Regions from separate parts of the Homo sapiens genome. Here region 2 is linked to region 1. Evidence: promoter capture Hi-C in 16 types of primary human blood cells and fetal thymus (Javierre and others, 2016). All regions are on one chromosome and are shown on one strand. Each heading gives the region's core, a stretch centred on a gene start or on the middle of the fragment in contact. The rest is flanking DNA. Distances are from core to core; before and after follow the strand shown.

Region 1 (2,661 bases), core at 111-2,610:
TCCATGTGATCACTCCAATAAATTAACCCTGGGAGACCCTTTGCAAATTAGGCTAGGCTTGATATTAAACGTGGCCACCAAAATTCTGGGCCACAGGGAGCCCACAGAAAGGACTCTAAGGTCCCAGAACTACTAGGTTCAAACAATTCCTTAAGTTCATTGAATGTGCACAGCATATCCAAGTCAAACCGTTTCATTAAAAAATAAAACACTGAGCACTTCTATGTTGAAGCTATTGCTTTTGCATATTGTTGTCGTCTCAAAAATCCTATCAGGTGGACAAGACAGGCACCTTTGGGACCATGTTACAGAAGCAACGGGTGGCATCAAGGGATGAGGTGACTTGCCTAGGGTCACAGAGCTAATAACCGAAAGAGAGTTGGGGCCACAATTCAGATCTTCCTACTCCTAGTCCAGGGCTCTGGAATGACTGCAAGAGCAAAGATCCCAGCCCTCACCAACAGGCTGGACAGGGGGAGATTAGCAGCTCCCCATCTCTTTCTTATCTCGGCCTGGCAGTGGCCTCCACCAGCTCTGCAGTTTGTCTGTGCACAAGCCCAGGGCTCGGCAAGCAGGCTCGTAATGGAAAGGCCCACGGCGGCCTCCCACCCACGGTAGTAATTCAGTAGGTGTGTCACAGCTGGGGACTTGGAGCGTTGGCTGTGGCTGGGAGACCACTATAACACAAAAAGAAGGCGCACTTCTAAGACGTTTGTGTGCAGTTCGGAGGCTTGGCTGATACTCTCTCCTATGAATCAAAAGTGGAACGTGTCTTCCCAAAGGGGCCGTATCTGCATCCGCCTCAGCCCAGCCTCGAATGAAAGGACCCCGTCTGTGTAGACGAACGTTCTTGGTCTGGGTCACTAAATCTAGAGCCGTGCATCCCAGGCCTGATGGGAATCCCACCCAGATGCCCGCAGGGACCGGAGTTCCGTTCCAAACAATCCTTCCACTCTTAACCCAGTATCACCGCTCTCTGATTTCCCCATTCCTTCCGGAGGGCAACCGAGCTACTGGCCCTTTAAAAGCTACTCGGACCAAAAAAAAAAAAAAAAAAAAAAAAAAAAAGATAGCCGTTCTGACCAATAGACGACTGAGGATGGCAACCTGGGGCCAATCGCTGCACGGCTCGTCCAGAAGCCCAAAGTGTGCTGGTCACCGGCTCAGCACTCACCGCCGTTGCAGCCGCATTGCCGTTACCAGACATGGCTCCGCTTGGAAAGTAGGCTGTGTGTGGGTGCCGCTAAGGTCCCCCGGCCCCGGGAAGCCGGGGGCTCCGGCCGGCGAGTACCGGGGACACGTGGGACCCGAGGTCGTCCTACAGTCTGACTCCTGGTCTCCGCAGAGCCTCGCGTCACTTCCGGCGCCCTCCCTCGAAGGGGAGGTCCCTCCCTCTGGGCGGGAATTGGAACATTGCGACAGTGGACCTCCCCATTCGACCACCCCATTCCCCAGCTGTGACATGAGCAAGTAGTGCAGCTTCTATGGCGCTTCCTTTGCTCTGTTCAAACTTAGCTTTGCTACAACCTTGAAATAGGCAGCATTTTTCTTTTTGATACGGGGTCTCACTGTGTCCCCAGACTAGAGTGCAGCGGCATGACCACGGGTCACTGCAGCCTTGACCTCCCGGCTTCAGCGATCCCCCCACCTCAGCCTCCCAAGCAGCTGGGACTACAGGCGCACATCACCACGTGGGACTAATTTCTAGATTTTTTTATAGAGACAGCGGGGAGGTGGCCTCACTATGTTGCCCAGGCTAGTCTCGAACTCCTGGACTCAAGCAGTCATCTCGCCTTGGCCTCCCAAAGTGCTGGGATTACAGGCGTGAGCCACTGGCCCAGCCAGCATTTCAATTCTTAAAATGAGGAAACTGGTTCAGAGAGATTAAAGGTCATGCCTAAAGACAAGTAACTGAAGTGGGAGCACAAACGCTACATGTAGTGAGAAAAGGGCTTGTTAGGAAAAGTGCTTTCCCATGAACATAATTTTTTTTTTTTTTTTGAGACGGAGTTTCGCTCTTGTTGCCCAGGCTGGAATGCAATGGCACGATCTCAGCTCACTGCAACCTCCGCCTCCCGGGTTCAAGCAATTCTCCTGCCTCAGCCCCCCGAGTAGCTGGGATTACAGGCACGCACCACCACACCCAGCTAATTTTGTATTTTTGGTAGAGATGAGGTTTCTCCATGTTAGTCAGGCAGGTCTTGAACTCCTGACCTCAGGTGATTCGCCCACCTCGGCCTCCCAAAGTGCTGGGAGTACAGGCGTGAGCCACCGCGCCTGTAATCATGAACATAATTAACAATCATGATTATTAATAATCACCCAGCTAGGTGCAGTGGCTCACACCTATATTCCCAGCACTTTAGGAAGCCAAGGCAGGAGGATTGCTTGAGCCCAGGAGTTTGAGACCACCCTGGGCAACATGGTGAAAACCTCATCTCCACAAAAAATACAAAAATAGCCAGGTGTGGCGGCACACACCTGTAGTCCCAGCTATTCAGGAGGCTGAGGTGTGAGGATCGCTTGAGCCCAGGAGGTCGAGGTAGCTGTGAGCTGTGGTGGTGCCACTGCACTCTAGCCTGGATGACAGAGTGAGACGCCCATTTTTTTTTTTTTTTTTTTTTGAGATGGAGTTTCACTCTTGTTGCCCAGGCTGGAGTG
Region 2 (2,661 bases), core at 115-2,614, 220 kb before region 1:
ATCCCAGCACTTTGGGAGGCCGAGGCGGGCGGATCACAAAGTCAGGACGAGACCATCCTGGCTAACACGGTGAAACCCTGTCTCTACTAAAAATACAAAAAAAAATTAGCTAGGCGTAGTGGTTGGCACCTATAGTCCCAGCTACTCGGAAGGCTGAAGCAGGAGAATGGTATGAATCCAGGAGGTGGAGCTTGCAGTGAGCCGAGACCGTGCCACTGCACTCCAGCCTGGGCAACACAGCGAGACTCCGTCTCGAGGAAAAAAAAAGAAAAGATACGTGCCTGCGGTGAGGAAGCTGGGCGCTGTTTTCGAGTTCAGGTGAATTAGCCTCAATCCCCCGTGTTCACTTGGCTCCCATAGCCCTCTTGATGGATCACGTAAAACTGAAAGGCAGCGGGGAGCAGACAAAGATGAGGTCTACACTGTCCTTCATGGGGATTAAAGCTATGGTTATATTAGCACCAAACTTCTACAAACCAAGCTCAGGGCCCCAACCCTAGAAGGGCCCAAATGAGAGAATGGTACTTAGGGATGGAAAACGGGCCTGGCTAGAGCTTCGGGTGTGTGTGTCTGTCTGTGTGTATGCATACATATGTGTGTATATATGGTTTTGTCAGGTGTGTAAATTTGCAAATTGTTTCCTTTATATATGTATGTATATATATATATGAAAATATATATATATATGAAAAATAAAGCTTAATTGTCCCAGAAATCATACATTGCTTTTTATTCATCATGGGTACCACAGGAACCTGGGGGCCTGTGAAACTACAACCAAAAGGCACACAAAACCGTTTCCAGTTGGCAGCAGAGATCAGGGGTTACCTCTGCTTCTGAGCAAATGGCTCAAGTTCTACCAGAGCAGACAGTCACCCTACTTTTCAGCAGCAAAACTGCCCTGATGACGCAGCACGAAGGGCCTGGCAGGCTGTTAGCAGGAGCTATGTCCCCTTCCTATGCTTTCCTGCCACTTGGAACTGCCCTCCAGACAGCAGCTCAGGCTCACCGCCATGAGGAAGGGGGCCTTGGCATTTGGTCCTACGGCAACTCGAGTATTGCCTCCCAACCCCCTGAATGAGCAAGAACTCAAGTCTGCTACAACAAAAGAAACTTTATTTAAAAATATTTTTTTACAGACATGGGTGCTTGAAAAAGCTCTTTAGTTAACTAACTGTGTATGGAAATGAAAAAAAATTAATAAATAACATTAGTAAAACAGACTTCTAAACATTAATACACTGGCAAAATAAAATGGACTTAAAATGAAAATGAATCTTAAAGCTCTGCTATTCTCTGTAAGAATATTTACCTTCTGTTTTTCTTATTCTTTACAGGTGAGAATGATTAAATACTGCTAATATAAATTTTTTATATTAATGACACATTTTTAAAATAGTCCACGAAAATCTCACCTATGTGTTTGTTTTGTTTTCTTCTTAACACTGATATACAAATTGGGACTCTTCATTCTGGAGAAAGCATCAGGTTCTCTCCAGCACTCCCAGGCTAAGAATTTCAAAATCTTGAATAAGGAGGACTTTAAAATTTCTGTCTCCCAATTCTTTATTAGTTAAAGGCAGGGGAAAACTGAGGAAAGGGTAAAAGATAAGTAAGATGTCATTATATAGAAAAACTTTTGCTAAAGCTCACTATAGTCACATTACTGAGGACAGGCTTCTGGTCCCATGTTCCTTGCTGCCCTTCCCTGGGGAAACCAGGCCCTGCAGAGGGCACTAGCTGCTTAATGCTTTAAGTCTGAAGCCTTCAAATGAAAGGCCAGCCACATCTGATGGGGGCTGGGGGGTGGGGGCAGGAGGTCTAGACCAGTTCAGGATCCAGCAAAAAGAAAAGACAAAGCCACCAACCTCCCCTTCTCAGGAGAGTCCATCCTATACTCCTCGACACAACTAGGTAATTAATGTCATCAGAAGGCTAGGACACTTGGAATGGTCCAGAGTTTACCTGGGAATTGTGAAACATTCTGTCTTTTGCAGGAGACAAGGCATGCAACCTGATAACTAAGCTTGTGATTGGAACCAACCAAATGATCCCAGGGTACAATGCTTCTCTCCTCCACTGAAGTCTCACAGCAGGGGAAAGGGACTCCAGACACACTGCACCTGCATGTCACCTCTCCAGTCACAGAGAGCATTCTTTCCTGTCTCCTAGACACTAAGGACTAATGAAACTCAAGGTAGAGGAGCTCAGACTCTGGTATTTCCATATTAAGTCCTAAAATGCAGCCTGGGATACAGTGCTGCCTTAGAAAGGCACAAAACATTTGGCTTTTTTTTTTTTTCAGTGTGCTAAAAATTGTTTTGTTTTGAGTAAAGGAAAAAGATATATAAGGTTAAAAATCCCAAGTCACCACAGCCAGAAAACAGACGTAGGAGGTGCCTCATAGCTGCCATGCCCCTACCACATGTGTCAGCAGGAAGTCAGGCTTTTCTTTCAAGGCCAAGACACTAGAACAGTGCTGAGCAGGGTAGGTCAGGAGGCATTTACTCTCATGGGCATTGCGTTGCAGGCTCACTCACCCAGACAGCAGGAGAAACAGGCCATGGAAGACAACACGTGGTCTACAGACTCATAAGTAGTTCTCTGCCTCTCCAGTTTTAAGATGGCCATAAGCATGGCCACCCTCACCCACAAGAAGGT

Evidence for each region. Contacts are between HindIII fragments. The CHiCAGO score rates a contact against its expected background, and 5 or more counts as called.
Region 2: a fragment that was not itself captured here is called in contact with the fragment with the promoter of HMBS in region 1 in 2 of 17 cell types (total CD4 T cells and M1 macrophages); the score reaches 7.9 in total CD4 T cells.

The regions. Positions count from the first base shown.
Region 1 is chr11:119,083,580-119,086,240 of GRCh38, reverse strand. It overlaps HMBS (hydroxymethylbilane synthase), which reads right to left and starts at 1,360. Exons shown (of 14, transcript NM_000190.4): 1 at 1,175-1,360. The coding sequence starts at 1,207. RefSeq lists enhancers at 1,083-1,132, 1,062-1,759. The HindIII fragment of the contact is 13,649 bases long and covers 1-2,661 here.
Region 2 is chr11:119,306,583-119,309,243 of GRCh38, reverse strand. It overlaps CBL (Cbl proto-oncogene), which reads right to left. Exons shown (of 16, transcript NM_005188.4): 16 at 1,095-2,661. MCAM (melanoma cell adhesion molecule) reads left to right here. Exons shown (of 16, transcript NM_006500.3): 16 at 1-715. Among named protein-coding and RNA genes, the nearest start is that of MIR6756, 5.1 kb to the left of the region's middle. RefSeq lists an enhancer at 2,011-2,661. The HindIII fragment of the contact is 1,328 bases long and covers 701-2,028 here.